Linked DNA regions of Homo sapiens: all the other regions are linked to region 1. The links are contacts of gene promoters, found by promoter capture Hi-C in blood cells and fetal thymus (Javierre and others, 2016). All regions are on one chromosome and are shown on one strand. Each heading gives the region's core, a stretch centred on a gene start or on the middle of the fragment in contact. The rest is flanking DNA. Distances are from core to core; before and after follow the strand shown. Region 1 holds the start of COXFA4 (cytochrome c oxidase associated subunit FA4). Region 2 has its middle 48 kb from the start of TMEM106B. Region 3 overlaps TMEM106B (transmembrane protein 106B). Region 4 has its middle 8.5 kb from the start of ARL4A.

Region 1 (3,107 bases), core at 441-2,940:
TGTTTTTCAACTGCAAATGTGCAAGTGAAGGCAAAAAACATTTACATGTGCCGAGAACCATGATTATTTTATAAAAACAATTATTTTTATGTCAATCCTCAAAACATTACAAGATTTGGTATTAGCAGTTCTACTTTACCAAAGAGAAAACGAGACTCAGAGAAATTAGATAATTTCATGAACCAAAAAAAGTAAATGAAAACAGCAGATTTGAGATCTGAACTTATTGTATGACTGTAAATGTAACATTCTTTCTACTACCCTAATGTTATCGCCCTACAGAGACTGTGGCTCCTAAACTGCCTTGATCAGCTATCAAAGTTTTAAACATTTTTAAGTACTTACCAAACATCTGGATTGAACAATGCCAGACGCAAGAGATACAGTGTTGCTCCAGTAGCTCCAGTTCCAATAAATACAAAGAGGGGGATCAACTAAACCAAACACAAAATAGAATAACCATCTTCAAATACTTAAAACACTGGCCAACGAGAGATTACAGTAGTTTCTGCACATTGATTTCCAAGTCTCAAACTGTTATTGGACTGTTTTGTCTTAAAATTTAAATAAAGTAGATCTTACATTGAGGTAAGATTTCTTATAACTGTGTTCTAAAGAAAGAAATGGAATTTGGAAAGGATGTTAAGATGACTCTGGTTTAAGTGTCTTACTTTTTAATGTGGAGCAAATTATAGGTACATTTTTAAATTTCCAAGAAAATGTATCGAGTCTTCTTCACCTCTCTAATATTTACATGTCATTCCCATTAAATTTTCTGGCTTCCTTTATCCTGGGGCTTGAAAAACAAATTCTTTGCAAATTATTTAAGGGTGCCTCTATAAAGATGTATGAAAAATAGAATCTGAATAAGTAAACGTATCTATTACAAATACTGGCTTTAAGCATTATCTCTGAAAACGTAATGCTACCAATGCTTGCTGCGTATTTAGGGAACCGGATTTAAGACAGATTAAAGATTGCATAGACTTTTAGCTCTACAGCACATTGATGTGCTGAGGAAAAATGAGATGCCAAAGAACTTAACTGCAATTTCCACACTTCGAAATTTTCCCAAAAGCAACGACGTCCAGACAAAGTGAGGATTCCAAGATCACGGACCCCTCTTATTTACCAAAAGGCCTGGTGGTGCAATGCGGCGAATACAAGAACCTCCAGAGATGGTATAACACATAGGGAACCTGACCTATGCTAGTCTCTGACCCACACAGCGCACATCTATCCCTCCTGGACCGCACAACCTGCAAAAGAGAGCGGCCACCAGACTGTTCCAATATTCACTAACTAGAAAAAACTAGGTTTTTTTTCCGAGCAGTGTCCGTCTCCTTCCTCCTGTCAGACAAAACCCCACAATGCATGGCGTAGAGGGTCACAGAGGCCTGGGACAACTAAGATGACAAACACTAGGCGAGGCAGGGTCTGGTCTGACGGACGGTAAGTGGCTGTAAATGAGGACGTTCCCAGGGAACAGAAAGAGGCGCACCCCGACGCAAGAAGGACAAGGGAAAACATTAGGAGAGCGGTCACGAACTTACGCTCGGATGCTTCTTGGCCTGACCGATGATCTGGCGGAGCATGTTTGCGGCAGAGGTCTCCGACTGGAAAGGAGAGAACCGACCTAGCCACCAGGCCCTAAGCTAAAAATTATCTGCAATGAGACACTACGGACTTCCAAAGTCACCCAGGACCTCCTACCTGAAGGACCCTTGGCTGGGAGGGCAGCTTGCGGCAGGAGGGCCCGGATGCGACTGTCTTTAATAGTGCCTGCTTAGATCTAACCCCTCATATGTTCGTCCTGACCTGGTCGGACCATCATCATTCCACTTCATAGTGAAATGCCTTCATTGCCGTGCCATGCATATTTCTGAGGGGAATTTTTTTGGTCGAAACGAGGACTCTTCGATTGACCAGACAGGCACTTTCCAAGGGTGCCACGTACTGAGGAATGCGGTCGGAGCGTGGGCGCACGGGCCGCGCGCTCCGTGAGTAGGGGGCCTCTCCCGCGGCGCCTGAGAGCCGGGTCCGCGCGCAGAGGCCCTGGGGGCGCGCGTGCCGGGTGCGCGCTGGCCAGCTGTGACTGCCGCTGAGGGAGCTGCGCGGCGCCTCTGGGAGCCGAGCGCCGGGCGCCTGGAGGGCAGGTCGGGCCTCTTGCCGCTAAGGTCAGCGGCTGCGGTTTGAGAAGACTGCAGCTGCTTCCTGTGTTACGCTGTCGCAGACAAGCAGAAGTTAAAAACTAGTAAATGACTTAAAGGTGATAATAGTCCTGGCAGTGTATTTCTGAACCCTCAGATCCTGGCCCTCGGTTGAAAGTTCGTCGCCACAAAGACCTTTCCAACACGCCACTATCCCCCGTCCCTGGTCCCAAATTGCATCTTTAAAATGTGTTTTCAATGGTCGTGTAGCTACAGATAATCTTTCCCACTACCCCAGTCGAATTTTCATTTGTCTTTTGTTTTGTTTTCTTCGTTGTTTTTTTTACCCGAAGGACTTCCATAGGACAGGCTTTGCGGGGGAGGGTGGGGGGATTGGGATAAAATGTACACTCTGAACCCTCTCCAATCTCATACGTAGCTTAAAGCATTAATCAAATGATCAAGCAAGTATTAATAATTGGGACTAGAAATCATAGGAGAAGGCTCCACCGGAAGTTACACTAGCTCTGAAGGAGGAGCGGACATTAACCAGGTGAAAACGGAGGATGCAGGTGTACAGGGCGGAGGTAATAACACGTGAAGGTCTGAAGCTATTGAAAACCCGAGGGAGCTGTATGAGGTCTAGTGTGGCTGGAAAGTAAAAGGGAGAGCAAGGTGGGGATCAGATCTGCTGGGCCAATAACCGCTTAAACATCATGGGTTTTATGTTGAGAGCTTGGGAAGGTTGTGTTTTTAAATGATTGCTTTGTGAATAATTGATTAGAAGGGATAAGCGTGAGAGGGGAAAGACCTATCAAGGGGCCATTGCAATAGTCCATAATCTGTGTGACAGATAATGGTAGCTTGAACTAGTGTAGAGAATGTAATGATGAGAAAAAAAGATTCCAGAGATGTTTAGAAGGTGGCACCAACAGGACTTGGTGGTTGGCTCTCCAG
Region 2 (3,016 bases), core at 26-2,525, 1.3 Mb after region 1:
GCAACTCATTTGTTGAAGCTCTAACCCCCAGTGCAATGGAATTTAGAGGTAAGGCCTAAGGGAGATAATTAGAGCTAGATGGGGTCATGTAAGTGGGTCCCTCATGATGAGATTAGTGGCCTTATAAATAGAGTATGAGAGAGACCTCTCCTCTCTTTACCCAAAAAAAAAAAAAAAACAAAAAAAAAAAAAAAAAATATCAGTGCACCCAGAAAAGATCTTTGCACTGAGGAAAGATCACATGAGGACACAGCAAGAAGGCAGCTGCCTGCAATCCAAGAGACAGCTGTCACCAAAACCTGAATTGGCTGGCACTCTTGATCTTGGACTTCCCAGCCACTGGGACCATGAGAAAATACATTTCTGTTATTTAAGCCACCACACTTCGTTATGGCAGCTTGAGCAGACTAGTAACGAAGGAGACGGAACAACAAGAAGGTAAGGGTCAGTAAAAACAGATTCGTGAAAAAGGTGATGTTGAAATTTTTGTGATGAGGAGACTAGATAATGAGATTATAGTTGGGGAGGATACCAGGTACTGACAATGTCAAGGTCTAGGATGTGACCATGAGACTGAGTGGTTGAATTAGGGTGGAAGACAAGCTTTGGGGAAGAGGGGAGTTCAAGAAACAGAGGCGCCCACATTTAAAAGGACTATTCATGTTCTCATCAAAACCTGAAATAAAGAAGAGAATGACAGTGAGTCAGGGGCTAACAGTTATAGTGACTGATGTAACTGATGATACTTTCAAAGATGCAAGTTTCAAAGAGAAGAGGTAATAATGTGCTAGAAATGACAACAGTAGATACCTTTTGCTGAATGCCTTCTAATACAAGTTAAGCACTCTGTAGACATTGTGTCTGTTCATTCACAAATAACATCACCATTCACACCATTCATCACCATTCATAAATAAAGAATCTGAAGTTCAGAGAGGTTAATTAACTTTCCTAAGGTCACACAACTAGTAAGTGGATGTACTATGGTTTCAGAACCAATCAGTTTGAATCTAAAGGCCCCATGATGGATAAGCTGCTTATTTTAAAGTTTTTTTTCCTTAATAGTTTTTACATATCCAGAAGCAAAAGCAAGAAAACATTTTTCAACAGTTTCATCTCCTCAAAAATAAACAGAAACTAGAGCTAGAGCTAAAAGCCTATTTCTTTCTTCTTGTTATTCAAACCACACTCACTTCATACTACCTCATACACTTCAGTCTGTGATATGATACATAGTAGGTCTTCCAGACTTTAAAGTTTAATGTTCCACCTTTGTGATTTTTGTCATTTCTACTTACTTCCTAAACCCAAATTCTACCTGATTTAGCTTTCTCCTAGGGAATGATATCTATCATACCACAGTTTAGTGGGGAAATAATATTATTTTAAAATGCAGTGAAATATATAACTAGTAAAGTATACTTGTGTACAGAGAAAAATCAAGTTCTATCTCACTGGTAGCAAGCATATCAAATTTGGGGAAATTCAGGGATGGAGGCTATGGCATCGGGCTAGAAGTCAAAAGGCTAGAGTTCCGGACTAGCTCTTCCACTTATGGAGCTGTGCACTTGCAAAATATGCAGACTTTCAAAGCCTCTGGTCTCTGGAATGGATTTAGCACAATCTTGGCACATTGTATATTTTTCAATAAATATTAGCAAATATATCAATAATTTTCATGTCACCCACTGGTTACTTATAATCCCTCAAATATTTTGCCTCTTCTTTGTATCTCTGGAAGGAGATGAAATAGCCTTTCAACTACAGGTTTTCTAAAAGCTGGGTGTGCACTGTTTCTGCTATGCTACAAGAAGGTGAAACCATATAACTCAAAAGAAAGAGACAATCCTAAGAAAAATGAGTTAATTTCATAAACCTGAGTTGTAATTCTCAGATGCAGAATATTAAAAAGCCAACACTTTCTGTAAGAGCTTTCAGGACTCCAGGGGAAGCTTGATCTGTCTAATAAACTATAATGATAATAACCAAGCATACCTCACAGGGGTACTAAGCTTTAATGACTCAATACTCGTGGAACCTTTTGAGCACCTCCAATGTTATGTAAGCATAAATGAATAAGTAGGGACATTATATACCATTGTTATTTCTGCATTAAATTTATCTTGATAATTTCTTACAATATCTTATAAGGCAGGCACTGTATGAGACTAATACATGAACAAAGATATGAAAGAAATATAATATATAGTAGTGCTTTCCAATGAAATAATTATACTCTTATATTAGTGAAAGAGAATGGGGTCATTAATTGTACCTCTAAAAAGTCATTCCTCGATTGTAAAGAAGGCAAATGAGAATCTGGAATAGACACTTAAGATATAAATGTCTATAAAGAGTTTGAAAAAACACTTGCTATTTTTTTTTCCTATGGAAGAGACATCTAAGTTTTTAGATGCATTTTTTACACTGAAGAAATTTTAATGATTCTTTCACTGTTTAAGTTATAACTTCATAAAAATTTCATACATTTTTATATATCTTTCATCTTGCCTTTCTATCCTCTCCTCCATAGCATCTCTGTGCTATGATAGTACTTTAATGTCCTAGTTTAACAATAAATCCTCGCAACCCTATATATGTTTGTCATATTTTCCAAAACACACAACTGTAATTGTTATACTGTCCTGAATTTCAACTGAGGTAGCTAAGCATAGGATACAATGACACAAGCAATCTCTTCAACAAACTTTGGTGTAATACCTGGATCTCCATCAATGAAAGAGTCATTTTTGTCAGAAAATATCAACCTTTAAAATGGAAAATCCCCTGAAAGAATTCTACTGAGGAGACTGCTCTTCTCACCCTTGCCTTTTTTCTTCTACCTAGCTGACATCATTTTCCTCAAGACAAAGGGAGTTTGTAAGGGTGAGAGGAGAGAAAAAATAATCAGTCATCTCTTCATGAGGAGAGTAATTCTGGGTGTGACAATTCTGTACCAAGGTTTGAGCAGATTTCACTTCCTGAGACAGGACAGGGGATGTTGGGAGGTGGGAAG
Region 3 (3,292 bases), core at 761-3,260, 1.3 Mb after region 1:
ATTGCCATTAGGAAATCTTTAAATCCACCTATGCACCTATGACCTGGACACCCCCCAGCCTTCCACCCCTGCTTCAAAATGTCCTGCTTTTCTGGGCTGAATTAATGTATACCTTACATCTATTGATTTATGCCTCTGCCTGTAATTTCTGTCTCCAAAATGTATAATCAAGCTGTAACCCAACTACCTTGAGGACATTTTCTCAGGACCTGTTGAGACTGTGCCTCAGGCCTTGTTCACTCATTTTTGGCTCCGAATAAATCCCTTCAAATATTTTACAGAGTTTGACTGTTCCTTGACTGTTCTAAATTAATTAGTGTAAATATCTCAGAGTGTTCTTGAATGTACTTTTTTCCCTGAAGTTTACTGTAAGATTTTTATTTTTCTTTAGACATGGGAAAGTCTCTTTCTCATTTGCCTTTGCATTCAAGCAAAGAAGATGCTTATGATGGAGTCACATCTGAAAACATGAGGAATGGACTGGTTAATAGTGAAGTCCATAATGAAGATGGAAGAAATGGAGATGTCTCTCAGTTTCCATATGTGGAATTTACAGGAAGAGATAGTGTCACCTGCCCTACTTGTCAGGGAACAGGAAGAATTCCTAGGGGTATGTGTTATTGTATTGTTTTCCCTTTAAATGATTTTAGGTATTTGCTCAAGTATTATAAAAACTGTGGGTCTCAGGAACCACCTGTTTTAGAGGACTCTTAGAATTAAAGTTGAAACATCATATCAGTTACCTTCAGTCAAAAAGATGCAAAAGAAACAAATAAAGTATTAATTAAGGTTCCTAAAGCAGTAAAGAAAACCACCTCACTACCTCCAGTATTTTTTCATTCCCACCTGCTATTATAGCAGATATTCACTGTCTTGTAAATGAAAACTTTTAGTCCTATTTGGCATCTGTAGAGATGACATCATAGTTACTTGCTACTTTGCTATATCAGATGTTAGAAGCAATTTAAGTAATTTGTTGACCTATTTTTTTTTTTTTTTTAAGAGATGAGATCTCGCAATTGTTGGCCAGGCTGGTCTTGAACTCCTGTCCTCAAGCAATCCTCCCACCTCGGCTTCCCAGAGTGCTAGGATTATAGCAGTAAGCCACCATGCCCAGCCAGAGTTAATGTGTAAGGAAGCTTATTCTTTCATGTTATTTTTAAAATTTTATTTTTTTAATAATAAGGATGGAGTTTCCCCATGTTTCCCAGGATGATGTCGAATTCTTGGGCTCAAGCGATCATCCAGCCTTGGCCTCCCAAAGTGTTAGAATTACAGCTGTGAGCCACCACGCCTGGCCAACCTAATATTTTTAATTCATTATCTAAAGAAGAAGAATAAGCTGGCTGTGCCCTAATGAGTTAAAGAAACTCTGTGAAGAGGGATGGTACGTGAAAATGAGCCAAATTGAAAAAAAAAAATTGTTTGTGATATATCATAGGGGACGTCAGAAGGAAATAATCCCCTGTGTGCTGCTTGTAAGCTACTTTAGGAACAGTGGCAATAAGTAGAAATAATAAAGATACTTTATGCTGTTCTCATTATCTTCTTGGTGAAAGTTGATGTGTGACCCTGGAGATACCCAGAGGGAAGAAGGTCAAAGTATAAAGTATACTTTGTGTACCTTTTTAAGATGCTTAAAATGTATCTTAAAATGCTGTGGGTTTGAATTGAAGTTTACATTTGCGTTGGCCTTTGAGTATGATGGTTTTATTTTCACAAGGATAGTAGCTATTTAAGAATAAAATAATTATTGTAGTTGAAGGGATTAATGCACCAGGCTCAGGGGGTAGGGGAGTACTGTTTTAGCAGTCTGGTTACATTTTTGAGGTATGACCAGTAAACTTTTTTGGCCGCCTGGATACAGATTATGGAAAGTAGGAAATCAAGGATGACTCCAGAGTTTTTTTGGGGGGGTTTGTTTGAGCAACTGAAAGAATGTAGTAGCAATTTATTAAAATTGAAAAAAAAAAGATTATTTGAGTGTATATGTCACAGGAGAGTTCAGGAGCTCAAGTTTAGACATGGATATTTGGAGATGCCTATTTGACGTGGAAGTGGATATGTTCATTAGGCAGTTAGTTATCATAAGGGTCAGGAATTCAATTGCAGCGCCCAGCCTCAAGTTACCAATGTATAGATGACACTTAAAGCTCAGCTGGATGACAGCAGCAAGCTAGTCAGTGCAGATGGCAAAAATGAGACCCTAGCGAATCCTGAGACACTGTAGCATATCAAGGTCAGTGAAAGAATTAACAAAGGACCCTGAGAAAGAAAAGTTAGAATGAGAGGAGGAAATCATTGTGTGTGGTATCATGGAAGATAAGTGAAGAAAGTGTACCAAGGAGGAAAGAGTGACCAACTGTCATATGCTACTGATAGATTGGGTAGTGTGAAGACTGAGAACTGGCCATTGGATTTGGTTATATGGAGGCCACAGAAGAGTTTAAAAGAGCGGTTTTGGTAAAGACGTGTAGCATGTATAGAGTGGGCTCAAGAGTGCATAGGAGATGTTACATAGAGAGAAAATAGATTTTCTGAGGGGTTTGGCTCCATAGCAGAGAGAAGAGAGGTAGTCATTAGAAGGGGCTGTGAGGTCAGGAGAGGGATTTTTTTTTTTCTTTGTAAGATAGAGTGAATAATAGACAGTTGTATACTGATGAGAATTATCTGTAGAGAAAACATTGGTAATTCGGGAGATAAGAGAATTATTGGAGCAATGTTCTTGAATAGACAGAAGGGCAGATCTACTGCACAAGAACAAAGAGCTGCTCTTTTTTTCTATAAAAGGTAAGTTATAAGCACAGGTGGTTTATTCTTGGTAATAAAAGAGAAGGTAAAGTATGGACACAGAAGCAGGTAGGTGGATAGATCTGATAATAGAAGCTTGTAGAAATTATCTTCCATTTATCACATAATGAACTAAGAATGAGGATAGCGAAGAAGATATTAAAGATTTGAAGAGAGTTGAAGTTATAAAATTGTGGTCTTGGAGAGTCAGCTTGAGAGTATGAACTTGGGAAATGTAGTATGATTGTTGACATCATTAAGTGCTACTTGACATGAGTGATCAAAAATGAAACCAGTGAGTGTAGTTGTGTGTTTTTCTGTGTCCATGTTTAGCTCTGTTGATATATGCATAGGAGCCAGAGGGTTGGTTTTAACCAGGGTTGTAGTTTTAGCCAGATGAATACCACTAAACAAGGTGAGATATGTAAACACACAAAGATACAGATATCCATGTTATATGTATTTGTATAATTATATATGGGTGTGATGGGGGAGCACAGAT
Region 4 (2,952 bases), core at 17-2,516, 1.8 Mb after region 1:
TTTATTTAATATATACAGTTCTTCAAGTATATTTAAAAATACTGAATTTGGGACAAAAAATTTTACACACAATACTTTAGGAACCTCTCTTTTAAAATTGATGTACATGAATATTTTCCACAATCATGAGGAATTTTTTCTAGGCAATATTTTTCTTCTCAGTTCAAGCAGTAGAATTGTTTTGTGAAAATTTAAGTAATTTACATGGAAGACATCTGATATATAACAGCCCTCTGATTGAAAAAGAACTCTTCCTGTTGCAGCTCTTTGTAATGTCAACGAGAATCTGAATATTTGTTTTATGGGGTTTTTTCTTTGTTCCTTTTTAGTGCAGAAACTGAATAACTAAACAGCAGGGGATTAGAAATTGTGGGCATCCAGTGGGCTGTTGTATTTCTTAAGTATTCAGATGAAAAGTGCTTGTTTCCCTTAATCTGTCATCTACCTGAAGATACCCAGAAATGGGTGAGTGACAAAATGGAGTTCCCTAGAATGACATTTTTCTAAACTGGCTATACTTCAGAATGACTTAAGGAGCTCTTGAGATTCCTACACTTCACTTCAGACATTTTGAATGGAATCTTTAGGAAATGGGTCCAGTAATTTATATTCCACCTCTTTGTAGGATGTTTTTTAAACACACCTAGATCAGCCAGATTTAGAAACCATTGTTTTGGAACTTAAAAATTGTGGGCTGGGGATGCCAGAGGGATAATACTTTTAGTGGCAGGAATAAAGGGATCATAAATAGAACTGGCCTAGTGAAACTTTACCTGTCTTAGACCCTTTTCTTCTACATAGTGGAATGTTTTTCATTGGCTTGACATTTATGTCATAATAACCAAACAGAATGCTGTCTGATCCAGGGATGTCTCAGATCAGATGGCTTAGGAGAAATCTGAGCAACCCCAGGGAAAGGCAATATGGAATAGACACTTTTCCTTTTACTAATTTTATATATATTGTATGCTTAATAGGTGATATCTTAGAAATTTACAAATAGTCCTGCCCATCTCACAAGAGACCAGTTAAAGCTTTAGAGATGAAGTACTATTAATAAGTAGTGCCTACAGTGTTGTTTTTTCTGTAACCCTTTTGAGAACTTTGAATGTCACGGGTTTCAATGATGATAGCCAATTATTTTGAGGACTAGCAGATATGGTAAGGAAAAATCAAAGACCTATCACAGTAGGAATACTTGAAGAAAACGGGCAGATCCAAATGGCTTATAACCAATAGGCTAAACCCAAGATGCATTTGATTCATCAAATAAGTAAAACACGTTCAGTCTATTCTATAAAGAAAGATGGTCTTTCTTGCTTGATCAATCTGTCAGCAGCTCTCATGTTAGAAACTGGGTGTTTATGTTAAATTATACAGGTAGAGTATTGACATGTATTAGCTGTGTAACTGAATGCAAGTTACTTAATTTCTCTTAGCTACAGCCTTCTCACCTTTAAATGGCAACATTATCTCTCTTACAAGGTTATTTATGAAGGAAGCTTTATGAGTCATCTGGCATGATTTCTAGCAAGTAGACCAAACATTCACTCAGGTATATGAACAACTGCCTCATGCTGCCAGGTGTTTAGAATATAGCAATCACCAAAACAGAAGGGTAGTTTGTCTCTTTCCTACTCTAGAAAGTAAGCTCCACAGGGACGGGGCATTTATCCATTGCCATATCCCTAGCTCTTATAAACCACACAGCACATACTAAACACTCACATATGTGCATAGTTAACAAATAAATGAAGCTTAATTCTAAAGGGATATCAGACAAAAGTTAATAAAATAGGCCGGGCGTGGTGGCTCACGCCTGTAATCCCAACACTTTGGGAGGCCGAGGTGGGTGGATCACGAGGTCAGGAGATCAAGACCATCCTGGCTAACACGGTGAAACCACATCTCTACTAAAAATATACACACAAAAAATTAGCCGGGCATGGTGGCACGCGCCTGTGGTCCCAGCTACTCAGGAGGCTGAGGCAGGAGAATGGCATGAACCCAGGAGGTAGAGGTTGCAGTTAGTAAAATAAAAAATGTGAAAAGTGCTATGAAGGAAACAGAGGGCTAAGGATGAGAAAACAATAGGGGTGACTTTCACTGGATAAAGTGGTTGGAGATTTTTCTGATTTATCTAAAGAGCTATGAGAAGAGTAGAAGAAAGAGCATCTCAGGCAGAGGGAACTTTATTTGCAAGGGCCCTGAGATGGAAAATCACTGAACCGAGTAGACTAAGTATGCTTAGAACTGGTGAGCAATCGACAGAATGGCAGGATATGAAGTTGCAAAATCAGAATAGAGCATTTACCTGTCTGACAATTGTATTTTTAATGATAGTTTGCTTTTACTTGGTCTTTATATATTTAATTACAAATTACTGATATTTTGTTTAAATCTACCACATTTTTCCATTTGACTGTTTATTTTTATGTCCTTTCTTTCTTTTAGATTAAGTCTTTTTTCTTCTCACCCCCTCACCCCTCCCCCCTGGTTATACATTCTTTTACTATTCTTTTTGTTATTCCATAGTTGCAGCATACATCTTTTTTTTTTTTTTTTTTGGAGTCTCGCACTGTCACCCCGGGCTGGAGTGCAGTGGCGTGATCTCGGCTCGCTGCAACGTCTGCCTCCCGGGTTCGAGCGATTCTCCTGCCTCAGCCTCCCAAGTAGCAGGGATTACAGGCGCCCACCACCACGCCTGGCTAATTCTGTATTTTTAGTAGAGATGAGGTTTCACTATGTTGGCCAGGCTGGTCTCCTGACCTCGTGATCCACCTGCCTCAGCCTCCCAAAGAGCTGGGATTACAGGCATGAGCCACCGCACCTGGCCTGCAGCATACATCCTTAGCTGAGTAAAGCTTAATGTAAATTAGTACATTTACCACTTCTACTTTTTGGACAATATAAAAACATAAAACTTTTTACAACTGTATTTACCACCTTCCC

What was found. Contacts are between HindIII fragments. The CHiCAGO score rates a contact against its expected background, and 5 or more counts as called.
Region 2: a contact is called between a fragment that was not itself captured here and the fragment with the promoter of COXFA4 in region 1, in 6 of 17 cell types (non-activated CD4 T cells, total CD8 T cells, naive B cells and 3 more). The highest score is 12.2, in non-activated CD4 T cells.
Region 3: a fragment that was not itself captured here is called in contact with the fragment with the promoter of COXFA4 in region 1 in 7 of 17 cell types (total B cells, non-activated CD4 T cells, monocytes and 4 more); the score reaches 13.8 in total B cells.
Region 4: a contact is called between a fragment that was not itself captured here and the fragment with the promoter of COXFA4 in region 1, in 1 of 17 cell types (non-activated CD4 T cells). The highest score is 5.5, in non-activated CD4 T cells.

What each region holds. Positions count from the first base shown.
Region 1 is chr7:10,938,463-10,941,569 of GRCh38, forward strand. COXFA4 (cytochrome c oxidase associated subunit FA4) reads right to left here and starts at 1,691. Exons shown (of 4, transcript NM_002489.4): 1 at 1,554-1,691; 2 at 346-434. The coding sequence starts at 1,595. It overlaps LOC107986767 (a long non-coding RNA gene), which reads left to right and starts at 1,794. Exons shown (of 3, transcript XR_001745091.3): 1 at 1,794-2,269. RefSeq lists enhancers at 1,674-1,943, 1,828-2,748 and a silencer at 1,974-2,223. The HindIII fragment of the contact is 7,174 bases long and covers 1-3,107 here.
Region 2 is chr7:12,257,970-12,260,985 of GRCh38, forward strand. No RefSeq gene overlaps it. Among named protein-coding and RNA genes, the nearest start is that of TMEM106B, 48 kb to the left of the region's middle. The HindIII fragment of the contact is 1,349 bases long and covers 602-1,950 here.
Region 3 is chr7:12,214,418-12,217,709 of GRCh38, forward strand. TMEM106B (transmembrane protein 106B) reads left to right here. Exons shown (of 8, transcript NM_001134232.2): 2 at 392-610. The coding sequence starts at 394. Among named protein-coding and RNA genes, the nearest start is that of TMEM106B, 4.8 kb to the left of the region's middle. The HindIII fragment of the contact is 1,747 bases long and covers 1,138-2,884 here.
Region 4 is chr7:12,694,670-12,697,621 of GRCh38, forward strand. No RefSeq gene overlaps it. Among named protein-coding and RNA genes, the nearest start is that of ARL4A, 8.5 kb to the left of the region's middle. The HindIII fragment of the contact is 468 bases long and covers 1,033-1,500 here.